Linked DNA regions of Homo sapiens: region 1 is linked to region 2. Evidence: promoter capture Hi-C in human tissues and cell types (Jung and others, 2019). All regions are on one chromosome and are shown on one strand. The core of a region is centred on a gene start or on the middle of the fragment in contact, and the rest is flanking DNA. Distances in the headings are between cores, read along the strand shown.

Evidence for each region. The method cuts DNA at HindIII sites, captures the fragments that hold promoters and counts their contacts. A contact is called where the count stands out against the background at its distance.
Region 1: a fragment that was not itself captured here is called in contact with the fragment with the promoter of FMNL2 in region 2 in 3 of the 25 tissues and cell types used here (aorta, dorsolateral prefrontal cortex and hippocampus).

Annotation. Positions count from the first base shown.
Region 1 is chr2:152,380,520-152,387,694 of GRCh38, forward strand. All of the region lies in intron 1 of FMNL2 (formin like 2), which reads left to right. Among named protein-coding and RNA genes, the nearest start is that of FMNL2, 49 kb to the left of the region's middle. The HindIII fragment of the contact is 5,401 bases long and covers 1,354-6,754 here.
Region 2 is chr2:152,331,003-152,338,385 of GRCh38, forward strand. It overlaps FMNL2 (formin like 2), which reads left to right and starts at 4,172. Exons shown (of 26, transcript NM_052905.4): 1 at 4,172-4,718. The coding sequence starts at 4,602. RefSeq lists silencers at 3,972-4,621, 5,132-5,231. The HindIII fragment of the contact is 5,547 bases long and covers 1,929-7,383 here.

The DNA of each region.
Region 1 (7,175 bases), core at 2,804-5,303, 49 kb after region 2:
TGAAGGAGTTGCTCATTGTTCTCCATACACTCTGGGTTCTCCCACCTCTGCACCTTGGCTCAGGTTTTCCCCTTTAGCTAGAATGCCCTTTTTCCTTGGCTTTGGCTGTCTCCTAATGGATTACTCGCTGTACCTACCCTTCTAGGCTGAGCTCATAGCTAGCATATGTAATCTAACATTTGAATCAGTTGAGAAAACTCTTATTTTCCTGCTCTATACACCCAGTATAGTTGGTTTGCAGGTGTCTGTGGAGTTTGTTTTATACAGTGCCTGTTGGGCTAGAGCTGCATTATAGCTAGTGTCTGTAAGACCGTTCTAGTTTAAGAGCATGCAGGGTGGCGACAGTGAGATGAGACTGGCTGTATCAGTTTATGGCTGTTCAGTTTATGGCAGGTGACTTAAACTGAGCCTTCATTTTCTCATAAGCAAAATGGGAACTTAGTATAACTAAGTAGGAAAATGTATATAATGCCTAGGAATGGCTTTTGCTAGGTGCCTAATAAGTAGAGTTTCCTTTTCTTCTCTTTATTTCAAATGATGTAAAAGAAGCCTTGTTTTGAAACCAAGAGTTGTTAATCTGACCAAATTTCATGAAAGGATATTGATCACAACATATTTGTTATCAGAGTTTGGTAACACCTGACTAATTTTTTGTATTGCTTTGGGATTTATTTAAGCATGTGAGACTGGTATTACCTAAGGTTTTAGTTGACAGAAGATGGATAGCCTGAGAGGTCGAAATTATGAGAGCAAAAGACTTTTGAAAATTTCTGCCATGGCATATTTCATACGTTTCAGCTTGGTGTCCAGGGTTTCCCTGAACAGACGAGTTTGTGACATACGAGCTCATAAATATACTTGCCTGTGCCCTCTTCCAGAAGGGAAAGCCAGATCTCCAGGGATGCTAACTGTTGGGGAGACAATGAGAGGAGCTTCTTGTCTGAATATCTTTGTTCACAGCAGAGATCATATTTGAAGTTCTTCTCTTCATCAAAAAGAGCAGAATGGAAAATGGTTTAATATTCCTGTCGTTAGGGTTTCCGCTCTGTGTGGGGTCATGAGAGTCACAGTCTTTATTCTGAATTCTGAAATGATGGTTTGTTTTACTTTTAAAAATGCATCTCACAGGGAAATAGAGAATTGTTCCTGTGAACTTCCTGCCTGCTGTACTAAACGCAGTTGCTGTGGCAGTTTTTAAAAAGAAATTAAAATGCAGTAATGCTTTAAATGTACTGCTTTAAGAAACTCGATAACTCTTGATTAGTTAGCATAACAAACAGCAAAGCAGAACTTTTTTTTTTTTCTTTTTGAGATAGGATCTCCTCCAGCCCAGGCTGGAGTACAGTAGCACAATCACGGCTCACTGCAGCCAGGCTCAATAGATCTGCCCACCTCAGCCTCCTGAGGAGGCTGGAACTACAAGCAGGCATCATCACACCCAGCTAATTTTTGTATTTTTTGTAGAGATGGGGTTTCACCATGTTGCCCAGGCAGGTCTTGAACTTCTGGGTTCAAGTGATTTGCCCGCCTCAGCCTCCCAAAGTGCTGGGATTACAGGAGTGAGCCACCATGCCTGGCCTAGAATCTTTACATACCGGTTTTAACCATGTTGTTTCACTTTTTGAAGCACTTAATAGGAGGTAAATATACTTTTGAAAGTTACATACTTAATAGAAACACACATTAATGGTACCCAAAGAACCAACTCACTCGTAGATTGTGCTCCATTTTTGTGCGGAAGTTTTTGTGCCAGCCAATTACATTTGCTTCTGTGGTAGATTTCTCTTCATTGGGTCAAAGGAGAGGCGTCATTAAGGAAAGCGCATGTGTCTTTGTTTCCTCTGGGTGTTCTGATGTGAGAGAGCCTGGCTTCTTCAGTAGAAGATTCTGGGAGGTTTTTGATAATCAAGTGTGGGAGGTCTTTTCTAATTTTCAGTGCTTCCTGGTGAGAAAAGCAGATCTCAAGAAGGGCTGAGAGAGGGTCCACTTGCCTCCACAAAGATCCTGATGCTAATAGAGGCTAAAGAGTCACTTTTGGCTTCAACTTTTAACTGCATTCTTAGGGCTCTTAATGTATTATGGACTTGAAATTTGCAATGAGAGTAGATCTCAAGTGGTCTCACCATACACACCCACACCAAGAAAGGAAACGATGTGAGGTGATAGATAATGCTAATTAGCTTGATTGTGGTAATCATTTCACAATATAAACTTATATAAAAAAATCACATACACCTTTATTATATATATAATTCTTGTCAGTCATACCTCAATAAAGCTGGGGAAAAAATAGAAGTGTGTCCATAATATTCAATAAATAATACAGTCATGAGCCACATAACATTTCCATCAAAAACGGACAACAAACTGGTCTCACAAGATTATAATAGAGCTGAGAATTCCTATCATCCAGTGACATTGTAGCTGCCTTAACATAGGGCAATGCATTACCCACGTGTTTGTAGTGATGTTGGTGTAAACAAACCTACTGTGCTGCAAATGGAGAACACATACAATTATGTTCAGTATATAATACTTGATAATGATCATAAACGACTAAGTTACTGGCTTAAAAAAATAGGAGTGTGGTGAGGGAGAGACCAACAAATAGGGCAGAGAGAGAGGTAGTTTTAATTTCTGGGAGAGATGCGGATATTAAATTTACCTCCCTTGGAAACACTGGAAGGAGGATAAAGCAAGAGGGCTCTGGGAATCTAGTGGAAACTTTTTAGGTGTGGACACTTCCGTTAATCCTTTTTTTTTTTTTTTTTTTTTGTAGTTTAGGGGGCAATAGTGTATTAGGCTCTAACTTTGGGTTTTGTGATTTCCTTTTATAAGATAAATTTAGTTTTCTTTTTTGGAGTTTAATTGTTTATTGTAATGCTAATTGTCTTCATGTAGCATGTTGTAAGCTTAAAATGTTCCGTAAGAGTAACCTGGCGTGGTGGTGCATGTCTGTAGTCCTAGCTACTAGGGAGGCTGAGATGGGATGATAGTTTGAACACAGGAGTTCGAGACCAGCCTGGGCAACATAATAAGACCCTGTTTCAAATCAAAAAACCAAAAAATATTTCATAAAAGGTAGCTGCTATTAATAATGGCATAATTATAATAATATCTTACTGTTATTATATATCCAGAATGGTTATAGCAAACTTGGTGCTCTTTGAAAATTACCACAGCAGCTAACCCTGGAAACCAAAGAAAGCCATTGAGGAAACCCTAGCCATCCCCAAACTTAGAGGAAATAAGTTAAGGCATTTATTTAGTCTTCAAGGGTTTTATTTATGGCAAAGAAATGAGGAGAAGTCATCATCAGTTTGATGATTAGCATCTGTTTTATTTAGAGAATTTTGACATCATAAACTAGGAATTTGTAAAACTGTATGTGCATATTTTTCTACATCTGGGGAGCTACCATATGTTATACAGATCTCATCCCTTACATTTCTAGAGTTGTACTGTAGGAACTATGTCTAGTAAAAATCTCACTCTTGGCTTATATGCATTTGGAATTACCCTTTCATATAATAAAGAAATAGGGTATTGATTTCTATTTTTGTGAATGCTTACTTTGTGTATATTTATCTTTTTAAGTTTTCGTAGCAGCTCTGCAAAGTAGGCATTTTATCTTTATTTTCCAGGTGAGGAAACTGATTCTGAGGAGTAAAATAATTTGCTCAAAGTTTTGTGATAGTGGCAGTACTCAGGTTGGAAACAAGGATTGGCTGACTCCAAAGTCCATTTTCTGTTTGTTACTTAAGTTGTACTTACACATTTTCCTAAATTTATTTTTCTCATGACTTGTCCTCACTCCAGAGTCTGGATTACCAGCCCCTGTGGTCTAGCAGAAGTTTGGGATGTTGAGGTAGGGCCTGGGCATTGGGGTGTAGACATCGATATTGCTGGCCAGGATAGGGGCTAGGCCATGGAATGACTGTGGGTAGAACTCAGCTGGTGGGGAGATATGGTCCATTTGATGGCTGACATTAGTGAGAGGGCAGGAGAGTACTCTTGATCAGTGATTGGTTTCCCAGGACAGAAGCAAAGCCTTCCCTCAGGCTTCCTGAGTGAAAGAGCATCCTTCAAACATCGTGCTTGAAAGGTGGACTCTTCTCCTCGGTTCAGTGGAGGCAGCCTGCCTGGGTCCCTTGAGTGCGCCTTCATCCTGGGGCATCTTGGGATTTAGGAAGCTTGTATCTGAATTTTGGAATGCAAGGGCTTCTGGTGGGGGCCATTATATTTTCAGCTAAGATTGGCCTTCCCTGGTCCAGAGCCTGCACACGTTTCTAAAATCTTTTTCAAACTCTCTGCTGCTTCATTAAAGTAAGAAAAAATAGCTACACTCTAGATTTGGTTTCTTGTTTCTTCAATGACACTTTGTCTCCTCATCCTAACACAGTAATCAACTAACCTAGTAAACTAACCCATGTTAGTGTAGCTAATATCCATAAATGTATTAGAGGAAGAATTCTTTTTTAGCAAGAAACTCCGAGGCCATGCTCCCTATCTTTGTCTAACTCCTTGGTGACTTTAGTAATGAGAATTTTAATCTAGAGGCTCCAGGGAGACACCCTCCCCACAAAGTGTGGGATTGCTCCTGTATTCTGTTAATGCCTATTTGTTAAAAGAGTTAACAGTGACCCTTGAACCATGAAGCAACTCTTTTTGGTGCTAAAAGAACACAAGTGCCCAAGAATGCAGCAGCATCGAAACTGGGGATGAAGTGATTTGTTCTTGACATCAGTTGGCAGGTACATTCTCTTGCAGAGAGTAAAGATGAAATAGAATCCCATTCATAGAAGGCAGTTTGTAGGGAGGGAGGCTGGGGATGGGAAAATGAGCTCAGGCTCAGAGGCCTTTTACGTCTTAGTGTTCTCACAAATATGCTTCCAATAAAAACCATTTAAAAGGCAAAATATAAAATTCTTCCATTTAGGAGGACCTTGCTGAGATCTATGGTGGTGGTTTAAACTGTGCCGTGATTAGAACCATGCCCTATGAATGTGTAATATGTTGTCGACCAGATGGTCATATAATGCTCACTGTCCTGGTGAGTTTGAATTAGGGAGCTGGGGAAATCTTGGCTGAGAAAAGGTAAGATAAGGCAAAAGTATATCTGCTTGAGGGGCAAAGTTGCATTCAACTGATTTGGTCTCTGCAGAAGTTTGCCATAGAAATCTGTCAGTGTGTACTGCTTTCTACTATTAATTGGGGTTTTAGTCACATGCTTTGTGGTTTGTTCATGAAGTTTTTATTTAAATGACTTATGAGAACTATCAAAATGTTTGCTCTGAAGGCTTAAATTGTGTTCTTATGCCATGGATTTTTTTTCAGATGATCAACTTACCCATGTGAAAATGCTTGAGCAGGTTGGCTGCCAAATTGTAATGAAAGGCTGTCAGCAATGCCTTGATTTATCTTTCTTTCACCTCTCCTGGATATGCTGTCTGCTTCCTAAGTCTAAGAGGGATATACTCAGTCCTGCAGACAACATCTGTGCTTCTGCATCAGGTTCCCTGCCTTTCTTGGGAGCTTTAAACATAAGAGTATCAGGAAAGGTTCCATAGTTGGTGACAATAGAAGATAGGTTAGTTTTGGGCAAATGAGGAAATGAAATGAGCTTCTCTTTCTCCTAGCATACCCTGCTGAGATTTATTCCCAGCACCTTCAAGGGGGCTATTGTAGAATGCAATCCCCAGTGCTCTCAGTGAAAGGGAGAATTACAAAGTACAGAGTCTTATCCTTTCACTGTAATCCCGGGTGCACACTTGGATTCTTGATCTGTAAGTGGGAGTGTGGTCCAGACCTCATTCAATGTAAAGCTCTTATAGAGACCCTGATTTTTTAAAGGGAATTTCTGCTGTTGCCACTTGTCTTGTCATCTTCTCCCTGAGAATGTTTTACCATAGCAGTTAATAAGTTATGTGATTTTAAATACCTCTTCACTTGGAGGAGTCAGTGCCTGTGGTAAGTCCTTTGACCATTCATTAACTCATTCAAACTCTAGGCTTTAGCTGACAACTTTTTCATTAGCAGCTTTCTTTGCTTGTTATTTTACTTTGATTTTCATGCTTTTCACCTTATATGTGTCTATCTGTTTTCCCTCTAGGACTTTCATGACCCTACATTTTCAGCAATTCATTGTCTGTCTGATTTGATGTTATTACCTTGAGGCCTGGAGATTTCTTACACAGAGGTGTTTTTCATTGACCTGGATAAACTCAGAAACAAGTCATCACTGTCTTTTGGCATCCCGCCTCCCCATTTATGTGTTATTCACCATAGTCTAATTAAATATGTTAAGTAGCAATGCCGGAAGAAGTAGATTCTGCTTTCAAAATGGTTTTAATTTATCTCAACAAAGGTAGAGAAAACCTTTGTTGCTTTAGGAGTCTAGGAGACTCCCCTGGGCAAAGTTTGCTGTTTTTTCTTCCCAGATTCCCCTTGCCCTTCACCATTCCTCCAAGACGCTTGAGGAATGATGATTTAAAAGAAAAAGGTCATGAGGGAGGACTGGTTCATAGATATTTCATGAAAAAGTGTGGCCTGTCTTGGGATTAAACCATTCCTGGGAAGTAGAAATGAGCTCTTCATTGCTTTGTAGGCAACCACAGTATATAAATACTGTAGAAGATCTGGGTTAAAAACCAAAGCCCAACTGTTATCTATAGTGTGCTGTTGCCAAGCTCCCAGTAAAGTTTTAGTTTAACAGACCACATTGTGGCTGATAATGATAATTTTGTGTTATCCCTATTGGATGAGTGGCTAGCCTGTTTCCACAGTAGACAGATGCTTTTCTTAATGGCAGACACCAGCCCAGGGCCTTGCTTTGTAGTAGGCCTTTGATAAATGTTTGTTAGATTTAATTGCCTGCTGACTTGTTGAGTACGGAGTGTGATTAGATTAAAACTAATATGTTGTAATTAAGAACTATCAGTCACAAAACAAATTTAATTTTTTTCTATAAATGTATGAAATATAAAAGTTATAAAATAATTATGACTTATCAAGGGGAAAGTTGTGACTTATCAAGCCCTGCTTATACTGCATTCAGTAGCTGAGGTTCAGTTCATTTCCACATTTGAGTTTGAACTCCATGTCTGGTTGTTTTTTAAATGTGTGTGTTTTTTCTTTTTTTTTGGTGGGAATTGGAGTTGGGGTCTCTCTGTCAT
Region 2 (7,383 bases), core at 2,922-5,421:
TTGATTCATAGCACCCTGACTGATTCATAGCACCCTGACTGTTATTTTATAAGTACATGGGAAAGGACCAGGCCATCCTACAGATACTGGCTGTAGCCTTACTGAATTGCCAAAAAAAATTTGGCAGCTACCTTTCTCCATATTTCTTGTCATATGAGAAAAATATATTATTTAAGACATTATTAGTTGGGTGGTGAAAGCATTCCTAATTGATTCAGGAGGAGGAGGGGAACTGGAGAGTTAAGTTACATCTTGGTAAGTTAACTGTTTAAAGAAGGCTGTATAAAGCAAAAGGGAAAAAACTCATGTTTAAAATTTGTTTACAAATCAAGAGCAGTGCCTGGCACATAGTAAGTGCTCAATAAATATTCTTCAAATAAATGTAGGTGAATATGTCAATCTTGCAGAACTGTTGTAGATGTAAATTGACAAATAGCAATCCCTCTAAAATCCCAGCTAGTTCTACTTCACAATTTTGATTCAGGACTATCAATAGTTGTATTTTTCACAGAGCACTGACCTCATTTGTACATAATTACACACACAAGGAGAATCTTAGGGTTACTACTCTGTAGCCAAGTTCAGTTAGCCTTTCTAAGACACTAAGTGAACTTACCTGCAGAGCTGTTCCTTACATTTAGAACCTGAGGAGATACCAATAAAACTTAGCTCCAATCCCTCAAACAGCTGATCTTGTAGAAGTATTTGTCCTGAATAATGGAAAAGCTTCTTTGAAAGCAATCACACCATTGTAGAGGAATCCCAGACCAAGCCATCCCTGGCATAGCTTGGAAATGCACATAGAAGATAAATGTTCTAACATTTCAGTGTCCCTGGAAGCTAAGTACAGTTTTAATAGACATTTTTCTTTTTTTCTTTCTTTTTAAGATAGGACCTTGATTTTGCTCTGTTGCCCAGGCTGGAGTAGAGTGGCACACCTATGGCTCACTGCAGCCTCAACCACCCAGGCTCAAGCAATCCTTCCACCTCAGCCTCCCTAGCAGCAGCTAGGAAGACAGGTGGATGTCACACACCAAAAATTTAAAAAAATTTTTGCATATTTTTAAACATTTTAAGCCATTAGGTTTTAAAGGTAGTTTTGTTACATCACATAGATAATAGGTAAAAATATCACTTTATAGTACTTACGATTTGCAAAATATAGTATCTTCTGAGTCAGGGATCAGCAAACATTTTCTGTAAAGGGCCTGATAGTAAAAACTTCAGGCTTTGAGGGCCATATGGTCTATGTCATATCAACTCAACTCCATCCTTGCAGTGCAAAAGCAGCTATAGATAGTAGGTAAATAAATGGTTTTACTGTGTTCCGATAAAACTATTTATAAGAGTAGGCAGATGAATGGATTTGGTTTACAGGCATAGTTTTCTGAATTCTGTTCTAAGTTGACAGTCTAGAAGAAGGTATATAATTCTCATCTCATAGTATGCATCCAATTATTAATAATTAGCTTCTTTGTTGTCTTCAGAAAATTCTGTATGGGAAGAAATCTTGCAGGCTTTGTTATAAAGAATATCAAACTGGCACAGTGGCTCACACCTGTAAACCCAACACTTTGGGAGGCCAAGGCAGGAGGATAGCTGGCAGCCAGGAATTTGAGACCAGCCTGGGCAACAGTGAGATCCCATCTCTCTTTCCCATGATTCTTCCCTTAGGGTAGGCGTTCTGCATGCATGGTGCTCTTCTTACCCTGGGGAATTGAGCACACACAGTGTGTTTAGGAAGTTGTATGCATGCCCATACAACTGGCTTTCTTTTTCTTTTCTTTTTTTTTCCAGTGGAGTGTACCTGGAAGATCATACTTCGCCATTTTTGTCTCTTAATAATTTTGCATTTTTCTTAGAGATGGAGTTTCTCCATGTTGCCAGGCTGGTCTTAAACTCCTGGGCTCAAGCAATACTCCTGCCTTGGCCTCCCAAACTGCTGGGCTTACAGGTGTGAGCCACTATGCCCGGCCCAGACATTTTCTTTTTTGCCAATATTTTGCACATGAGCTGTAACAAATCATATATAATAATAATAATAAATGGAATATACATTTTTAAATGATTGCTTGATTTTAATTCTGTGGGGAGGAAGAGTGCTACAATTAAGGTAATAGAAATGTCTTTTCTTTCCTTTCCCTCCATGCCGTCTCCCCGCAAAGAATTTCCTAAGATTTTGATGGATTCTTATAGAAATTGTACAAGCCTATGGAGTGTTTATTTCTCCTCTTAATAATCACAAATAACAACCAAATATTAGAGATTCCAAACATTGAAATGGCAGGAAAGTTCTTTTGGTTCATAGATTTGCACACTTTTTCCTTGGCTTCCCTCGAAGTGTGAGCTTATGAGAGAGACTAGATGTGATAAGACGTAAGGGGAGAAAAAGGTCTTGGTTACTGGCAGAAATATAGCCGCAGGGAGACATAAATGTAATCAAAAAGGCTTTCTCAACTGCAGAAAAGAATTCCAGCCTTTTTTATCCAGATGGGCAACCCTCTGGGTGGGCTGATTTTGTGAGTCAATCAGATCCAAAGTATATGTCTAGAGATTACAAGGAAATAAATACATTTGTGGGTCAGAAATGTTTCACCTGGTCCGAACTGCTTTCTTTCTCTCTCATTTTCATTAGTTTGGAGTGTGTGTGTATCTAAACCGCCCTGCTTTTCTCTCAGATCAGTAACACATTTGCTATTAACTTTGATACAACACTGCTTTAGAAATACAGGTTACAGTTATTCAGAATTTTAAGTTGAATTTATTTATACTGTCTCCATTCTTTAAAGACTAGAAGTGGTTTAATAGAACATACATGATGTATTTGTGTGTATTTGTGTCATATGCTTTTGGAAAAAGTCACTTGTCAATTCCACAAATAGTTCTTGGGCGTCTACTATGTTTAAAGTATCTTGAAGTTTATAAAGATGAATGAAATGTCCTTGATTGAATCTTGGTGTACTACCTTGTCCAGAAACACTTGCTATTTACTAAAAGGATAACAACCTTACCTGCATATCAAAATCACCTGGGGAGCTTGTTGAAAATACACCGGCCCAGGCTTCGGCTCTCAGCTTAGGGAGATTCTGATAATACGCAGAGCCCAAGGTGTGTGTAGTTTTAACAAAAAGCTTCCCAAGCGAATCTGATACACATCTAGGATTAAGAAACACTGCTTTAAACTAAGAAAGGACTAACTGCAGAAGTTCAGCCACAAGTCAACCAGATGTATGCCCTTAACATTCACATGAGCAGTTGGCTAAAGTCTCTTATAAGGCTATTTCTATTTCCGAGGTTTCAGAACGGGTAGTTATAGTCTGAAATACACCCCAGAGGACAGAGTCAGGTCCAATCTTTTCTGTAAGACACCTTGCTCAAGACTGCTGTGAAGGAATAAGAGAGCTGCAGCCAAAGATCATCCCAAAGTCTCCCAGAACACTCTATCATTATATCCATCTCACATGAAATATGGGTGTGTACATTTTTTCCTTCACTAGATTGGCAAGTATTCCAGCGCAGGGCAAATCTCTTTTTTCTCCCACCAAGGAACACAATATCCCATACATAATAGGTGTTTGACAGGTTTTTTTTTTAAATTGAATTGAATCCTTACCTAGCTCCTAGGGTCTGACTATATATACCCATAAATTATACATCTGTTTATAAAACATTTCAATCACACCAAAGAACATATATATGGAAGAAAGAACGATAAACAAGCACCCATGGACCCACCCCCCCGTTTATGAAACAGAACTTTGCCAGTGCTTTCGAAGTTCCTTACTGAACTAGATCTTTTAAAAACAGCAACGATTTTCTGAATTTTAATCAGAAGGCATGCATTCCTTCATTCATTGATTCGATTCCGTCATGGTCAGACCCGCCTACCAAGTGTCAACATGATATACACGATGTAAGTATTCCACTGTTGGGGTGAGGAGGGTCAAAAGTGACAATATGCTATCTCCAGAGACTACGGATCGCCTTTGCTGCAAATGGTCCCAACCCGGCCTGGCGCTCTAGAGCAGGCGTGGTTTCTGCGCGCGGACACTTTGGAGAGAAACTACGCGTCCCGGCAGTCCGCGGGGCGAGTGGGCGGAGCCGGGCCGGGGGCGGGGGCCGGGCGCCGGGCGAGAGGTGGCATTGTGTAGGGGAGCGCGGAGCTGCATTTGTCTGCTCCAGGTGCTAGCCAGGCAGGCGCAGCCGTGGCCGGCTAGGGCTGGAAGTGTCAGCGGCGGCCGCGGGCCCGGCAGAAGGCCGAGTAGGAGGGACCACGCGCCGGGGGCCGCGATCTCTGGCAGGGGGCGGTGTGCCAGCGGAGCACCATGCACATAGGCGCCCAGCGCCCCAACTACCCCTCCCGAGGAAAAGAGGCCGGGGCCGCGCTGGGGCGGCGGAGAGCATGAGGGAGGCCGGGGGGCGGCTCGGCTTGGAGCGCTGCTAGGGAGCGGTGCGCGCCGCACACCCGCCTGGGCGCGGCGGAGGGCGGGGAGCCGGGCAGGTCGCGCCTGCGGGCGGCAGCCGACCGCCGGGAGCTGTTCTGATTTCCGACGCGCACGCTAGGGGCCCGGAGCAGCCCCCGGCCCCGGCGCGCCGCCGACATGGGCAACGCAGGGAGCATGGATTCGCAGCAGACCGATTTCAGGGCGCACAACGTGCCTTTGAAGCTGCCGATGCCAGAGCCAGGTGAACTGGAGGAGCGATTTGCCATCGTGCTGGTAAGTGCGCGGCGGCGGTCGGGCGCGGGGACCCGGGGCCCCGGGCCGGGCGGCGCAGCTGACCCCCGCCCCTCCCCTTCACCCCGTGCCGGGAGCGAGCCTCCATTCCCGAGGGGGAGGCTCCCGCTTTCCCCTTTGTGGCCCCCCAGCACTCCTCTTCACCCCCCTGGCAGTCCCCCGCGCTCAGTCTCTCGGGGTCCCGGGATGGGGATGGGGGCTCAGGGCCGGCTGCCCAACCAGCCTCGAACCCATTGTCTGGCTGGAGAGGCACCTCACGGCGCGTGTGCCCGGGAGGTGCGGCGTGGGCGTGAAGAGAAGGTGGCGCGGGCTGGGAGGAGGAGGTGGCGAGCCGCTTAGGCTTTTTTTTTAAAAAAAACAAAACAAAACAAAACAAAACAAAACACCCTGAGCCCCTGCGGACCATCCCTCGGGCGGCCAGCCCGGGACCTGCGAAGTCCCCGGCAGATGGGGCGCATGTGGCCGGCCGCGGGCGCCGCGCCGGGCGGTGAGCGGAGGCGAACTTGGAGGGCTCACGTCGCGGCTTGGCCAAGGGGAGCTTCCCCGAAAGGGAAAGCGGAGACCCACAGCAGTGCGGCGCCCCGGCCCTTGGCGAGGAGCAGGGGCATCTGAAACCCAGGCCGGGGAGAACCTCAGCGCGTTCCCTCTAGACTTAAATCTTAAACCACAAAAATGTGGAGTTTTGCGGGGACGTGTTGCGAGCTGTCCTGACTGCACGGGCGACCCCTCCCCTCCTCTTGCACGCCCAGCCAGGTCCCCCGCTCCCTCCTGCATTCCGCTTCTCCCAGCTTTCCAGCTCCTCAAATCCAGGACTCTGAAAACTCCCCTCTTTCTCCCTTTCCTGCTGGGACAGTGTCTGGGCCCCTCCCAGCCGAGGCTTGTGCTGTGAGCTGCAGAGGGTGTGGCGGCTTGCCCCAGCCAGGATCTGGACTGCTGTTGGTCCCCCAGACTACCAGTTTTAGTGTCCCAGCCTCTTCTAAGGGATGTTGGGAGGGACACACACAGGCGAGATTGGGCTCATTCCTACTCCTGACACTTGGACACTTCTCTTTTCCTAGTTGGTTACCTCTAAACTCCACAAGACTAGGCAGCAAGGGAAACTCGTGATCCGGGCAGCCAACGATTGTGCCTGCCTGCGGGTTTTCTTTTCTTCTTTTGTTTTCATGAAAACTTAGAACTTTGGCAGAGGACTCGAGTTCTAGATCAAAAATCGGTTTTCTGAGGTGTGCTCAGCTACAGGACGTTCAAATTGCCTGCCTTCAGGCCTTGAAAAAGGAATGGTTTGGTATGGGAAGTGATGTTCTGGATGGCAGGTTAGCTGTGTGCTCTTTGGGAGAACTGAGCTCTCTCTCCCGCCACCTGGAAACTCTGGTGTGGCCGTCGGGGAGACAGATGAGGTTGCTTGTGTTGCTTTGCATCTCCTGTGATCTCCCACAGCTGCTCCCACCGTTGTGCAAGATGGGACACTGAAATGAAACGGCCTAGGCATAACTCTCAAGGCGGCCTGGGTGCATACTTGACCTGCTTTTCCAGAGACAAACGTTTTTCTTCAAAACCCTCTTCCTACTAGACATATGGTTCTTACCTCCTGGCTCTGGCTTTTTTTCCTCCTGGCTCTGGCTTTTTTGTTTTTCCATCCATGCTGTGGTGCTCTGTGTGTGTGTGTGTGTGTGTGTGTGTGTGTGTCTGAATACTTGTGGTGGAGGAGCCAGTGACACAGGGAAACCAGTGCAGCAGCCATAATAATAACAATAATGCAATTAAGTTCTGCTTGACTAGGATAGCATTTTTTTTTGCTTGAGCTTTCATTTACCCTGCTGATTAATAACACATGGTGTGAATTAATCTTTAGAAAAATAATGTCCCATCATTAACATGGTGGATTTGTGTTCTTGTTAAGGCTAGCAGTTGCAAATATAGTATTTAGACAATTATGATTGTACATCCCAAGCTTCTTGGGGCAGGGTTGTTGTGGCTACTTTTACACTACTGTGTGTCGCAGTTACTGGGTGCAATTCCTTTTAAAATTGTTTACAATATTCTAAGCCTCTCAATCAAGAAACAAAAACAATACCAGGCTGACCTTTTATTGAGTAGAGACAAAGCTTTTGGGGGACCAGGTCAGCTTGGGAACCCTCTTCCTAGGGACGCATTTGGACCATTGATGCGTTCCTTGTCCCAGGTCAGCTCCACTTGCTCTTTGACAATCTGTGAGAGGAGTTGAAACCTTCCAGATCATCTCCGTGGGCCAATAGAAGTGCGCAGTGTTGGTGATTTCTCTTGTTTTTTTTTTTTTTCTGGAGTTGTGTGTGTGATAATCTCAACTTTGCTTTTCTTCATGAGTTGCTTAAGAAATCAGTTCAAACCATTTAATTGTGGACATCAATCTTGAAGGACAAGTTTTAAGTGGCAGATTTTTAAGTATGTATGTGGAGGGCAATGGAAATTGTGTTGGCATTATTGATACCAGTTCAACTTTCTTGTATAATAAAGATCATACGGGTGTTTTGGGAGGAAAACCAGATAGTAATACCGTATAGAAAAGTGTCTAAGCACCTCATTGTAAGTATGGCTAACATCAATAATTAACAGACTGTTTCAAGCTAGGAGAACAGTTCCTCCCAACTTCCAGCTCTAGAATATTTAA